3 separate regions of the Homo sapiens genome follow, and all the other regions are linked to region 3. The links are contacts of gene promoters, found by promoter capture Hi-C in blood cells and fetal thymus (Javierre and others, 2016). All regions are on one chromosome and are shown on one strand. The core of a region is centred on a gene start or on the middle of the fragment in contact, and the rest is flanking DNA. Distances in the headings are between cores, read along the strand shown.

The links. Contacts are between HindIII fragments. The CHiCAGO score rates a contact against its expected background, and 5 or more counts as called.
Region 1: a fragment that was not itself captured here is called in contact with the fragment with the promoter of ACAP3 in region 3 in 15 of 17 cell types (M0 macrophages, erythroblasts, naive CD4 T cells and 12 more); the score reaches 11.9 in M0 macrophages.
Region 2: the fragment with the promoter of NOC2L here is called in contact with the fragment with the promoter of ACAP3 in region 3 in 3 of 17 cell types (naive CD4 T cells, total CD4 T cells and activated CD4 T cells); the score reaches 6.4 in naive CD4 T cells.

Annotation. Positions count from the first base shown.
Region 1 is chr1:1,038,056-1,042,789 of GRCh38, reverse strand. It overlaps AGRN (agrin), which reads right to left. Exons shown (of 36, transcript NM_198576.4): 4 at 1,910-2,125; 5 at 1,393-1,617; 6 at 1,088-1,312; 7 at 628-834. Among named protein-coding and RNA genes, the nearest start is that of AGRN, 20 kb to the right of the region's middle. RefSeq lists a silencer at 1,801-2,010 and an enhancer at 2,566-3,244. The HindIII fragment of the contact is 3,981 bases long and covers 1-3,769 here.
Region 2 is chr1:956,498-961,095 of GRCh38, reverse strand. It overlaps NOC2L (NOC2 like nucleolar associated transcriptional repressor), which reads left to right and starts at 1,840. Exons shown (of 19, transcript NM_015658.4): 1 at 1,840-1,881; 2 at 2,015-2,167; 3 at 3,823-3,997; 4 at 4,071-4,202. The coding sequence starts at 1,856. It overlaps KLHL17 (kelch like family member 17), which reads right to left and starts at 512. Exons shown (of 12, transcript NM_198317.3): 1 at 296-512. The coding sequence starts at 402. RefSeq lists silencers at 1-288, 309-618, 1,577-1,836 and enhancers at 1,947-2,056, 1,715-2,572. The HindIII fragment of the contact is 14,217 bases long and covers 1-4,598 here.
Region 3 is chr1:1,305,232-1,309,418 of GRCh38, reverse strand. It overlaps ACAP3 (ArfGAP with coiled-coil, ankyrin repeat and PH domains 3), which reads left to right and starts at 1,489. Exons shown (of 24, transcript NM_030649.3): 1 at 1,489-1,650. The coding sequence starts at 1,604. PUSL1 (pseudouridine synthase like 1) reads right to left here and starts at 822. Exons shown (of 8, transcript NM_153339.3): 1 at 699-822; 2 at 447-504; 3 at 146-333. The coding sequence starts at 775. RefSeq lists silencers at 181-310, 321-460, 491-560, 781-1,460, 1,501-1,670 and 2 more. The HindIII fragment of the contact is 38,674 bases long and covers 1-4,187 here.

The DNA.
Region 1 (4,734 bases), core at 530-3,029, 270 kb after region 3:
GGCAGCAGCAAGCCACCCCCCCTGCCGCACCAGGGGCAGACCTCGGGCTGCGGGCTCCTGGAGGGCAGGCACGGCACCTCATCCTGCCAGCAGGTCAGGCTGGAAGACACAAGAGGCGGAGCCGACAGGGAAGAAGAGACCAAAGAGAAGAGACAGACGCAGAGAGAAAGACCAGAAGATGGGCGAACTGACCAAGACGAACACGACGGGACACGACGGCCACTGCCTCCCCCTGGCCCTTCAAGTCCTGACACTGCCTCCAAAACGGCCGACGGCTGCCCATGTCCCAAGAGTGAGGACCCTGGTGTTGTGTCCAGCCTGCCCACCCCAACAGCCTGTGCTTACAGCGTGGAGACATGCGGACAGGCCAGAGGACTCCCAGGGAGGGCGTGGCTGAGGTCAGGGACCAGGGAGCCTGGACAAGGCCCCGCCTCTGCCTCACCAGCCCCCAGGTATCCAGGTACCCTCCGCACACAGGCTCCACCCTCCCCAGAGCCTTCCCAGAGGGACCGGCCCACTCCCAGGACCCCAAGAGGAACATGATGGATGAAGATGGCATGTGATGTCCAGGCAGGGACTGACGCAGGAGCAGCCCACCCCGCCTGGCCTCCACCCCGGGGCGCTCACCACACGGGCCCTGGTGCTTGCTGGGGATGGCACGCTGCTGCCGGCACTCAGCCTGCTGCCGCCAGCAATCACTGTCATACGTGCGCCCGTCCTGGGCACACACGGGCCTGTAGGCCCCGTCACAGGTGACGCGGTCGCAGGAGCAGCGGGGACGGCCACGGCGGGACAGGCACACGGCATTGAACCGGCAGGGCTCCGGGCACTGGTCTAGGACGCAGGGGTGAGGGAGTCACGGAGAGGCTGGAGCACCCTCCATCCCTGCCCTGGGATGTGCAGGGAGCAGGGGAGCAGGCGGCCCTCCCAGAGGGGAGCCGCCCACCTCGACCCTGGCACTGGCCGCAGCCCTCCCCCGGGGGAGCCGCCCACCTCGACCCTGGCACTGGCCGGAGCCCTCCCCCGGGGGAGCCGCCCACCTCGACCCTGGCACTGGCCGGAGCCCTCCCCCGGGGGAGCCGCTCACCTCGACCCTGGCACTGGCCGGAGCGCACTTTCTGCAGGAGGAGACCCCGGGCGGCCCCCGATCGGCCCATGACACAGTCGTTTTCGTAGGTGACTCCGTCGTCCCCACACACTGGCGCCTGCCGGGCAGGGCAGCTCTCGGGCCGTAGGAGCATCTCAGGGCGCCGCGTGCGCGGGTTCACACGGCAGCTGCGGCTCGGGTCAGGGAGGGCGCCCTGACAGGGGTCTGGGGGTCGAGGGCAGGAGTCAGGACGCTGTCGCCGCGCGCCCACAGAGCTCGAGCCGTGCGCCCGCCGCCGCGCTCACCACAAGGGCCGTCGAACTTCTTGAAGACATTCTCCTGGCGGGCGCAGGCGCGGCGCAGGAGCTGGCACTCGCCGGGGTAGTCGGCGCCGTCGCTGCCGCAGACGGTCCCCTCGGGGGCGCCACGGCAGGTCGCGGGGCACAGGCACGAGGCCGTCAGCCCGTCGGCCGAGCGCGCACAGGTGCTGCCGAAGCTGCAGGTCACGTTGGAGCAGGGGTCCCGCGAGCCTGCGGGCGGGGCTTTGCCGGTCAGACGGGCCGCCCCCGCCCCCGCTCCCGCCCCGCTCCCGCCCCGCTCCGCCCCCCAGGCCCCTCCCAGCCCCGCTCCTCCCCGCCGGGCCCCGCAGGCCCCGCCCCCGCTCCCGCCCCGCTCCGCCCCCCAGGCCCCTCCCAGCCCCGCTCCTCCCCGCCGGGCCCCGCCCCTGCCCCCGCCCCACTGGCCCCGAAGCCCCTCCCAGCCTCGCTCCATCTCATAGGCCCCGCCCCTCCCCGCCCCAGGCACCGGCCCCGCCCCGCTCACCGCACGGCCCGCGGCTGAGCAGGCGGATGCGGCGCTGCTGGCTGCACTGCGCCCGCTGCAGCTCGCATTCGTTGCTGTAGGTGGAGGCGTCCGACCCACACACAGGCGCCACCACGCTGGGGCACGGGCTCTTCTTGCAGACGCAGGACGCCCGGCCCGGCCCCTCCGCGTTGGGCTCGCACACGGCGCCGAAGCCGCACAGCATTCCCCGGCACGCTGGGGCGGGTAGGGGAGAAAGCTCAGGGTGCCGAGACGCCCGTACCCACGTCCACAAGCCTGAGAGACCTTGCCGTGCTCGCAGCCCGCGCATTCACCCGCCCCCGCGCCGCATCGGGGGTCCACCACGGACACGGACACGCGTGCGTGCGCTCACAGGACCGGCCCTGCCCCTCGCAGACCCCGCCCGCCGAGGATTCCCGCCAGCCCCGGGCCTCTCCAGGGATGACCTTTCTCCCCCACCCCGCACCTGCAGGCGCGGAGAGGGGCGTCTGCCGCAGGCGGCACCCGACTCTGTTTCTGCGACGGGCGAGCACCCACTTCCCACCCACCTCGTGGGCCTCCAGCGAAAAGCAGAGACGCCTCGAAACCAACTCGGGCACAAGCAGTCCAGGCCCCAGTTCTGCTCAGGAGCTCCTTCCACATCGGCACCGGAGCCCCTCACCGATTCACCCCATGGAGCCGGGGGAGCCCCTTCCCGCGCTGCTGCAGCGTCCAGCACAGCTGAGCCCTGCCGCCTCCCGCCCGGGTCGCACCCAGGTCCCGCGTCTGGCCCTCAGGGGCCTGAGAGCCCCACCGGGACGGGGTGTGAGGCCAGGTCACAGCTCTGGCCCACCTCTGGCGCCTCCCTGACCGCTCCCTGCGCCTAAGATGGGTGGGGAATCTTCTTGCCTCCCTCTCCCCAACTCTTCCCCAGCTTCCCTGGAGAAGTGCAAATTCCTGGCCTCCGCCTCTACTATCTCCTATTCTCCCTGGCCAGCCCCCCACCCGCGGCAGGCCTGTGCCCTTCTGCAGCCTCCCATCGCTCCCTGGGATCCCTGGGGCACCCACACGCCCCCTCCTCCCTGGGCATCCCCCGGCCCCCCACCTCACTCTTGCCTCCTCCATCGCCCTCACTCTCTGTCAAAGCGAACTTCCTTCTTGGAGAGGTGCAGGAACTGTTGCTCATTTTAGTTCTTACAGCTGCAGACCACAGCGCCTGACACACGTCCCATCACCAGACCTCAACGTGGCCAACAAAGCTGCCTCAGGCACGTTAAAACCCAGAGCCCCTGCGGCAGCCCATCCTGAGCACCCCCACCCCCAGCATGGCCCACCCAGGATCAGGGAAGGGTCCGTTAGCGGCTGCAGCTGTCTGGATTTAATAAATGTTTAATTGGGTCCAATTATCATTAATAAGTCATGTCAGAGGGGTGGCTACCACCCATCACTTCCCAGCAGGCTCGTGAAATGGGGCAGGAGGAACCCCCCCCATCTCCAAGGAGGGTGGGTGCACTGGGAGCTGGAGCCAGCTGTTGCTATAGCAACAGCCCACCCCAGGCTCTGGCGCTGTCTGTCTGGGTGTCCCTGCCCCCACCCCAGAAGGCTGAGTGAGGGCCATCCGCCTGCCATCCCTGCAACCTACCCATGCTCCCCCCACCAGATCCCTGTCTTCCTCCCCAAACCTTGGCTGTGCCCCCACCCCTCTTCTGCTACTCTCCCACCTCAGGTCTTACAGCCAGGCTGCTCAGCTCTGCATTACCCACTGTGAGAATGTGGGCAGGTTATCACCTGCCTGGGCCTCAGTATCCCCTTCGGTGAATAGGAGCAATAGGACCTACCTCCCAGGATTGTGGGGTTAAATGGGCCAGTATCTGCAAAGCTTAGAGGGTGCCCAGCACACAGCGCTATGTGGCCCGTCTGCTGCCACTGTAAGTATAGTCATGAGGGCTGTCATCACCACTGGCCTTCCCCCGTCCTGGCTCAAATCAAACTCAAACCACATGCACCCCTGGCCCTTTCACTTCCCTTCTGGTTCCCCTTCTCTCTCCCCTCAGCATCTCCCTCTCCCTTTGGCCCTGCCTTGTCCAAGGCCCTGGGACTCCCAGTCCAAATCCAACGGGCACCTGCTGATGCCCAGCCAGCTGTTCTCCTGGGCTTCGGCTGGACCTGTGGACCAATGGTTCCCCCCAGGTCCCAACCCCATGGCCAAGGACCCAGTCACCTCCCTGCACCAGGGCTCCTGAGCCTTTCTCCCCTTTTGGTCACCTTGGCTCAGCCAGACCTCTCCCAAGGCCCTGACACCATGGCCAAGGGCACTGTTCCTGGATGGCGGGCATGCTCCTCATCCACCAGGACCCGCAGCTCCCTCCATAGTCCAGCCCGAGGTCCTGCTACGTCCCAAGACAGAGCCTTGGGGAAGAAGGTGATGATGGCAGCTCACCAGGGTGAGCGGGGCTGGACTGCTTGCAGGGGCATGGAGAGCAAGCTCTGGGATGGGAGCCTAGAGGTACCTTAGGGACAGGCTCTGAGTGACCAGCTGCTGGACCAATGTGGCAGGGCAGTGGAGAGACCTTGGGTACCTGGCGGGACCTTGAAGCCAGGCTGAGCACTGGCTCCCCATCCCCATCTGGTGTGCAGGGCCAGGTCCTGGCCCCTTCCCCTCTGCCTCCAGGGCCTCAGAGAGTCCGCTCCTCTTGGAATGTGGCCCCAGCTGTGGAGTGGGGGTGGATCTCCCTCACAGCATTTGATGGTGTGACACTGCCGGCCAGCCCAGGGTTTAAAGGTCACAGTGCTGGTCCCTCCCTCCTATCCCCATCCAGGCTGGAAACACATCTGCCCCTCAAGAG
Region 2 (4,598 bases), core at 591-3,090, 350 kb after region 3:
GGGGCGTAGTCAGAGCCGCGAACAGAGCCCCGCGTCCGGCCCCGCTTCCCGGCGCCCCCACGAGCTCAGCTCCTCCGCGTCCCTAGCCGCCCTCTCGGGACCGCAGCGGGAGTCGCGTCCTGGGCGCGCGGGGCGCGGGTGGGGAACCTACTCCGGGCCGACCCCGCTCCGCACCTGAGTCCCGACCTCCCCCGGCCCTCGGAAGCGGCCCCCGCCCCTTCTGCGAGCGGACGCGAGGGCGGGGGCCGCGCAGGTCCCGAGGCCGCCCCCCGCGCCCCGACCCCCGCCCACTCACGCCGGCGGCTGCGGCGGTGGAGGCGGCGGCGCCTCGGGCCCGGGCCCCGGGCTGCCGTGCTCCGGGCTCTGCGTCCTGCCGGCCGGGCGCTCGCTGCGGGGCTGCATTCGGCTGCCGGACCCACCGCCGATTCGCGGAGGACCCGCGGGCTTAACGGACGCGGAGACTGCCGGAGGGCTGCTCGGCGGTGGCGGCCCGCTCTGTGTCGCTCACTCCCGCCGCTCCCGCCCGCAGCCGCTGTTTCTCGGCGCCGCCCGCCCCGCCTCCCGAGAGGCTTCGGGGACTAGACGTTGGACGCGGATTCTTCCAGCGCTGCGCCCCGGGTCCGCCTCCTCCTCCGAGAAGCACCCCCAGACCCCGCCATCCTCCTCCTCCGGGAAGCCCCCCACCAGGCCTCGCCCTCCTCCTCCTCCGAGAAGCCCCCCTAGGCCTCGCCATCTTCCTTCTCCGAGAAGCCCCCCAGGCCCCGCCATCCTCCTCCTCTGGGAAGCCCCCGGCCTAGCCCTCCTCCTCCTCCTCCTCCGGGAAGCCCCCCTAGGTCTCGCCTTCCTTCTTCCCCGGGAAGCCCCCCACAGGCCTCGCCCTCCTGTTTCTCCGAAGAGCCCTCCTAAGCCTCGCCCTCCTCCTCCTCCAAGGAGCCCCCCTAAGCCTCGCCCTCTTCCTCCTCCGAGGAGCCCCCCAGGCCTCGCCCTCCTCCTCCCCCGGAAGCCATCCCCGCTCCCCCGACCCCCTAACTTGCTCTCCTCCGGGGAGCCCCGGGGCCCCGCGGCACCAAGAAGTCGAATGGGACCCCGAGGCCAATCCGCCCGTGTTCGCCTCACGCGCCCCCTCAGCGCCAGGGCTGGGGGAGCCGTGCCTGCGCCCCGCGGCGCCCTTGTCGCGGGGTCTGGCTGTCCAGGCCCGGGGGCCCGGGTGTCAGGCTGGTAGCGGGAAGGAAGGCGCCGGCCTCCCCACCGTCTTCGTCCCGTGCGGCGTCCCCGGGAAGAGCCGCGGTCGGCACCCAGAGGGCCATGGACGGGGAGCGCCCTGCGTGGTGTTCGTGGCGCTGGCCCGGTCTCCGCGGATCGGAGGCGAAGCCAGCCTGGCCCTCGGGTCGCCCGTCTTTTGTCGAGCTGGCGACATCAGTGCGGTTCCCACTGCCCCTCGCGTTTTCCACTGGACTCCCTGCTTTTTATTGTTGATTTGTGGGAGCTCTTTGCATAGGAGCCCCGCCGTTGCAGTCTGGCGTCCTCGCAGGCGCGTGCCTTCGGAGCGCCGGGTGGGCTGCGGGCGCGGCGGGACTCCCGGTCTTCCCCGGGGCGGACACCGGCGTCACCGCGTCCTACGGAGCCGGGCGCCGAGCGGGAGGCGCATCTGGGCCCCACCGGGGCTGCCCGCACCGAGCACGCGAACGCGCCCTCCCGCCCTGAGGCCGCCGGCGTTGCGGTCGGAGAACCATAGAGCCACTCGGCTGGGCGTGGCGCGGCGGGGCGGGGAAAGGGGCGGGGCCTGGGCGGCGGAAGTGCGCAGCCGCGCGGCATTCTGGGGCCGGAAGTGGGGTGCACGCTTCGGGTTGGTGTCATGGCAGCTGCGGGGAGCCGCAAGAGGTAAGCCGCGGGTCCGAGGGCCGATTTGGCCTCCCGGTGGGTGTCTGTATCCAAGGGGGCTTTTCTTGCTCCTCTCAGCGGGGCTGGGGCGAGCTGGGCGTGCGGGCAGCTGTGACTCCTGCGTGACCCGCAGGCGCCTGGCGGAGCTGACGGTGGACGAGTTCCTAGCTTCGGGCTTTGACTCCGAGTCCGAATCCGAGTCCGAAAATTCTCCACAAGCGGAGACACGGGAAGCACGCGAGGCTGCCCGGAGTCCGGATAAGCCGGGCGGGAGCCCCTCGGCCAGGTTAGTGGGGACATGCGTGAGCAGAACCTCTTGCTCGTCCTGTCCCACCCCGGTTGGGTTGCTGACCTCGCCTGGGGTCTCAGGGCCAAGGCCTAAGGATCGCCGACCTCTGCCCCCCAGTCCTTTCAGCTTAACTTACTCTTTCATCCGATGTTTACTGAGCTCCTGTTCCGTGCCAAACTCTGTCCTAGGCAGGGAGCGTATGTTGGTGAGTTGTGCAAAAATCTCTTCCCGATCTAGGAGAACTCTCACGTTCTTGGGTGAAATCACCGCCTGCAGTTCGGTAGAAGAGAGATAAGTGCTGGGGAGGGAAAGGAAGGACAGAGGGGCTGAAGAGAGAGTTGCAGGGGAGCCGAGTTGCTCTGTTAGAAGGAGCGGAGGCTGTGCTCGGTGGCTCACGCCTGTAATGCCAGCACTTTGGGAGGCCGAGGCGGGCAGATTACCTGAGGTCAGGAATTCGAGACCAGCCTGACCAACACGGAAAAATCATGTCTCTACTAAAAATATAAAAATTAGCCGGGCGTGGTGGGCACCTGTAATCCCAACTACTCGGGAGGCTGAGGCAGGAGAATCGCTTGAACTTGGGAGGCGGAGGTTGCAGTGAGCCGAGATGGCACCATTGCATTCCAGCCTGGGTGAGAGAGTGAGACTCCATCTCAAAAAGAAAAAGAAAGAAATCAAAAGATACAAAAATTAGCCTGGCGTGGTGACACACACCTGTCGTCCCAGCTACTCGGGAGGCTGAGGCAGGAGAATCGCTTGAACCCGGGAGGCGGAGGTTGCGGTGAGTGGAGATTGCGCCACTGCACTCCAGCCTGGGCGACAGAGTGAGATTCCGCCTCAGGAGAAAAAAAAAAAAAAAAAAAAGCGGAGGTGGTTGTTTGAGAAGATGACGTCTGAATAAAGACCTCGAACAAGGAGGCCACACAGACAGTAGGGGAAACGTGTCTTAGGATTTCAGGCAGCAGAAAACAGCAAAAGCCTTGCAGTGGGAGCATTTGGGGAGAGTACAGAGGTAAACGTGGCTACGGCAGGAGTGAGGGGGTGAATAGGGGTAGATGAGCCCAGAAGGGTGATGAAGAGCCAGGTGCCGTAGACCGTCATAAGATTGCCTCGTAAAACAGGGAGTTACTTCTGGGTTTGAGCGGTGGAGTGCCTTGTAGGTGACAAGGGTGGAAACAGAGAGACCTTTAGGTTAACTGAGAATTGAACTATGTGGTGGTTTGAGAGGAGGCACGAACGGTTTTGAAGGTGTTGCTGATGAGATCTGATGACAAGTTGCGTGCTGGGTATTAGAGACAGAGATTTGCCTTTAGTCTGAGCCTCTGGAAGGGTGAAGCCACCATCAGGCAAAAGTAGCGCAGGGCACAGGCACAGCAAGTCCAGGGAAGACCGCGGCTGGGGGCCTGTGTAGCGCAGGGCGCAGGCACAGCAAGTCCAGGGAAGACCGCGGCTGGGGGGCCTGTGTAGTGTGTTTGAGGGTATGTTGTAGAGGTTGTTGGGTAGGAGACGTGAGTCTGCCAAAAACGTACCTCCTGGCAATCCTGTCTTGCTAGTTGGTAACCCTTGTGAAGGGAGTAGACTGACCCTGTAGGCCACTCCCCGCCCCCTCTACTTCCACTTCCCACTGGGGTCGCTGACTTCTGCCTCCTCAGCCGGCGTAAAGGCCGTGCCTCTGAGCACAAAGACCAGCTCTCTCGGCTGAAGGACAGAGACCCCGAGTTCTACAAGTTCCTGCAGGAGAATGACCAGAGCCTGCTAAACTTCAGCGACTCGGACAGCTCTGAGGAGGAAGAGGGGCCGTTCCACTCCCTGCCAGATGTGCTGGAGGTGAGGGCGTGGGCCAAACCAGAAGGGGGGCACTTGTCTCTACACTCTCCTTCAGCTCAGCCTTTCTGTGCAGGAAGCCAGTGAGGAGGAGGATGGAGCGGAGGAAGGAGAAGATGGGGACAGAGTCCCCAGAGGGCTGAAGGGGAAGAAGAATTCTGTTCCTGTGACCGTCGCCATGGTTGAGAGATGGAAGCAGGCAGCAAAGGTGAGCAGCAGCCAGGGGCGGGCAGCTGGGTGCCCAGGCAGAAATCTGGCCTTGCCTCACCTGAGGTGAGCAGCAGCGAGGGGCGGGCAGCTGGGTGCCCAGGCAGAGATCTGGCCTTGCCTCACCTGAGGCGCCTGAGGCTGTGCTGGTGGGAGGGGCTGTTCTCCACGCAGGGGACGCTTGGAGCCTTCTTCAGCGCAAGTGACAACACGTTGCTCCTCCTGCTTGCTTGGTTGCCCCAGGACTGTGTGTTCACTTTTGGGTAGATTCCAGGGGCTCTGTTGGCGCCCCACTCCCCAAAGTCAGTCCCGCTGTGGGTGGGACGGACTGTGCCTTTGTTGGTTGGTGGAGCTGGGGTCCTTCTGAGCCTCTCACAGTGTTTTTTTCCAGGGACAA
Region 3 (4,187 bases), core at 240-2,739:
CCCGCCCGCCCGCGGTGTCACATTGGCTCTCCTTCCCCCTCGAGCTCCGACCAGACAAGGAAGTCTGTCCAGATCTCCAGCCTCCGCCCGCGACAGATGGAGTCGGGAAGGCACAGCCCCAGGGCTGCTTAGGTCGCGGGCTCACCTGATGGCCGGGTGCCGCAGGTGTGTGTTGAGGGCCTCGGCCAGGACCTCGGGCGGGAAGGGCGGCCGGCCTGAGCGGCGCTGGACGTCCAGGTGCGCCGCGTTGCTCAGGGCGTGGACCCCGGCGTCCGTGCGGCTGGAGATGGTGAACCTGACCGGCTCCACGGAATTCAGCCGCTCGGCGGCCTCCTGCAGGACCGAGCCGCGGGGCGGGCGGGTGAGCGAGGCCGGACCCCGGGGACGCGCGGGCGGGAGCCTCCCCCTTACCCCTCACCGGGCGTCCCGTGACCGGCTGAGCGCACCTCCAGGTAGTTCTGGACCCCGACGGCGCGCTGAGTGCCCCTGACGGCCGCGACCCCGCTGCGGGCAGAAGCGGGCGGAGGTTACCGGGGGCGCCCTGCCCTGGGGTCTCCGCCGCCGTCTGAGGCCAGGGCCGCTTCCTTCCCCGAACGTTTGGAACCCGCGTCCAGAGACATCCGCCTGCCCGCCCGCGCCCTCCTTCCCGCCTCCGCCCGGGCCCACGTGGCGCCCGCCGCTGCGCCTGGGAAACCTACTTAAAGTCGGTGCCCACGTACTGGAAGTACACAAGATAGCGCGCGCGCACGGAGCCTGAGGCCGGCGCCGAACTCATGGCGGAGCCCAGCCGGTGGCGTCAGAGGCGGCCTCCAGCGCAGGAATCCTGCGCGCGCGCGGACGCGGCCTGGTCACGCCCCCCCCCCCTCCCCCCCGGCCCCGGCCGCTCTTGCGCCTGCGCGGTGGCACCGCGCCACGGCGGCCAGAGTCGGGGAGCGGAGGCGGGGCCGGGCTTAGGGAGCGGCTGCAAAGTGCCGGCCCGCCGCCGAGCGCAGGCGCTCTACCTCTATCGCGGCGCCCCGGGAGGCGCGCACCAACCACGCGGTCACCCCGCGCTCTCGCGGGCGTGCATTCGTTCACTCGCTCATTCATTCGCCGCCGCCCACACTCCCCGAGCGCGCCCGTTCGCCGCGTTGCGGCCAAGTCCTCCCAGACGTGGTTTTTGCAAACGCCCTGAGTTGCGCAACGGCCGGGATGGTTGGAGCGGGCGGGCCCGCGCCCTCCCCGCGCCCTCCCCGCGCCCCACATTTCCACCGACTGTCCCCGGAGACGGCCGTGGCAGGCCCCGCCTCACTTCCGGACCGGGGTGGTCCCTGGACGCTGCGAGAGGCGTTTGGCGACGCTCCCCGGCGGTGACAGCGGGCGGCGCGCGCGGGCGGCGGACCTTGGCGACGCTCCCCGGCAGTGACAGCGGGCGGTGCGCGCGGGCGGCTGACTTTGGCGACGCTCCCCGGCGGTGACAGGCGGGGCGGGGCGCGGCGCGGCGGCCTCATTCCGGGGCGGGCGGGCGCCGAGGCGGCGCGGGCGGGACGAGCGGTCCGGGCCGGCGCGGCTGCCGCTCGGCGCCGCGGTCCTCGTGCCAGTGAGCGCCGCGGCCGCCGCAGCCATGACCGTGGAGTTCGAGGAGTGCGTCAAGGACTCCCCGCGCTTCAGGTGCGCCGCCCGGGGCCGCCGGGGTGGGCGCAGGCCGGGGGCGTCGCTGTCGCCTTTGTGCCCGGCGGCGGGGTGGGGAGGTCAGCGCCGGGCCGGGCCGCGGCCGCCGGGGAGGGGCTGGAGGACCGGCCTCGGACAAAGCGGCGGCCCCGCCCCGCCATGCCCCGGGGGTTGGAACAAAAGACGCTCCTGCCCTGTGCGGCCGCCCCGGGTGGAGGGCGTGCGCGTGGGCAGCCGTGGGCACCTCGGGACCGTCCGCCCCCGCTCTGTGTCTGCACCTCCACTGGGCTGAGCCCCTCCCGGGCCCTGCAGTCCAGCTCTGGCCAGGGTCGTCTGGGTCCGTGGGGGCGTCGGCCCCTGGTCTCTGACTTGATCCTGTGTCCAGAGCAGCGCGTGGGGAACAGGCAGCTGGAGCCGCGTTTAAGGCCTGGGGTAGGGTGCTTGGAAACGTGAAGTGGTTTGAATGACCCAGGGGCTTGGAGGGGTGGCGGCCGAGAAGAGCGGCGGGGAAGGTCAGGTAGGGGGTAGGGGTTGTGTGCACACCGAGTCTGCATGTTTTCCATCATTCGTGGCGTGCAGGCGTGTACACCTGCGTGAACTACATGTTCACAGACGTGTGCACAAGTGTGCATCGGCTTTGCTTGGTGGACATTTGGCAAACGACAATGGAGGCAAAGAAACCTCTCTGCATCCCCAAGTGCGCACCTGCGTGAGGCCCCCTCCTCTGCACGAGCTCGTGCGGGGTGCGCTCTTGTGAACTTTGCCCCTCTGCGTGCCTCCCTCCGGACACCAGGCCTTGCACAGGACGTGTGGATGAGCTGTGCCACGGGGCTGTGCTTGCTTCTGCATGTAGCCTGCCGATGAGTGCACGCAAGCGTGTGCACACACCACCTGTCTGTGTGGGTTCACGTACTGTGTTAGCCATGTCAGCAATAGACACATCACCTTGTACACGCGTGTTCCATCACTAGGTACACATGTTGATGCGTGTCTGTGCAGTGTCTCCTTGAACACACATGTATGTGTGGTACCAGTGTGTGCAGGCATGTTTGTGCATGAACATGTTTGCACATGTGTGCTTGATTGTGTATGTGTGGGTGTGCACGCGCGCGCTGGGTCTCTTGGGATCTGCTGGCAAGTCAGCATGTGTGTGGAGGCACGGGGAGCCTCTGTATCCCTGGAGCCCTCACCAGGAGGCTCAGGAGCCTTGGAGTGGGAGGCTCAGGGCCAGCCAGGAGAGTGGCCGCCAGCCCTGGGCAGAGGAACTGGGGCCATCCTCTGCTCTCCCATCTTCTGTTGCTGACCTGGGAAAAGGGGTTGAATAACTTGAGCACCCTAGGATCCTGCATTGAGGACCCGGGCTGTGGGGAGGTGTGGGCATGGCCTCCCTGCTGGGGGCTGGACCCTGGCTGAAGCACCCACCTTCTCCCTGGCCCCTCCGTCAGAAGCCTAATGGACCTCCTCCTCCACGCAGACGGCCCTGTACTGCCCTCTTCCAGTCGTGTGGGGGTGCTGGAACCCACTCACCTCTGGGCCTTCTCTCTGGTAACCGGCTCTCATGGGAGCCTGTTACAGGAGCCAGTTATGGGGGCTGTGGGGCTGCAGTAGGTGCCGTAGAGTGACTGCCCTGGGAAAGTGCCTCACCCCTGTGGGGCATGGACTGGAGTGGGGAGATGAGAATGGCCTGGCCCAGTGGGTTTTGGGGTTAGGCTGTGATTTAACTGGGGTTCGAGGGGCTCCCTGAGGCTGTCCTGGGGGCAGGCCCTAAGGGCGTAACTTGAGTTTCCTGGCCTACCGCCAGGTTGGGGGGCCAGGCAGGGTGGGCGGGAAGATGTGGTCTGTAACGTGGAGCCTGGTCGCCCCAGCCCGGGAGAGGGGGACCCTGCCCGCACCCTCCTGGTCTGGGGAGGGCCTAGTGGCAGCCCAGGTGCAGTGGGCCGGAGGCCAGGGGAGCCCGTGTAGGGGAACCGCCTGGCCTCTGTTCAGTGTGCCCCTCCCCTGGGTGGGGCTTCAGGCGCTGAGTCATGGCTTTGGTTGGGGGGCAGCCTCACCCTCCTCCCCGTCCTCCAAGCTGCTGAGGAAATCCTGGGCTGAGCACAGCAGAGGAGGCCTAGGTCCCCAGGACTGAGGAAGGGAGAGCTGAGGGGCTCCCAGCAGTGGGAGCGGCTCTCGGGGCCTCTGCCAGGGCCCACCCTGTCCCCATGAGCACGTCCGTGAGCTCCTGGGTGCAGCCATCCCCCCTTGCTGGCTCTCCAGGGACACGGGCGCCCCAAACCCGAGGGCGGCAGCTCTGGGTGCAGCTGTCTCTGCATCCGGCCCTGCTCAGGGGTGGCTGCAACTCCTGGGGTGTGGCGCTCTCTGCTGCCTTCTCCTGGGAGGATGGTCCCTTCTCTGTTCTGGGATCCTCCAGCTGAGGTAGAGGTCAGGGTCCAGGGGCTGCAGGCTGGGCACTGGCGGTCAGCGGACACCACAGCGAGATTCCCTCCATCGCCCCCTGCTTCGGGATTCAGAGTCCTCTTAGCCCCTTGGGAACAAGA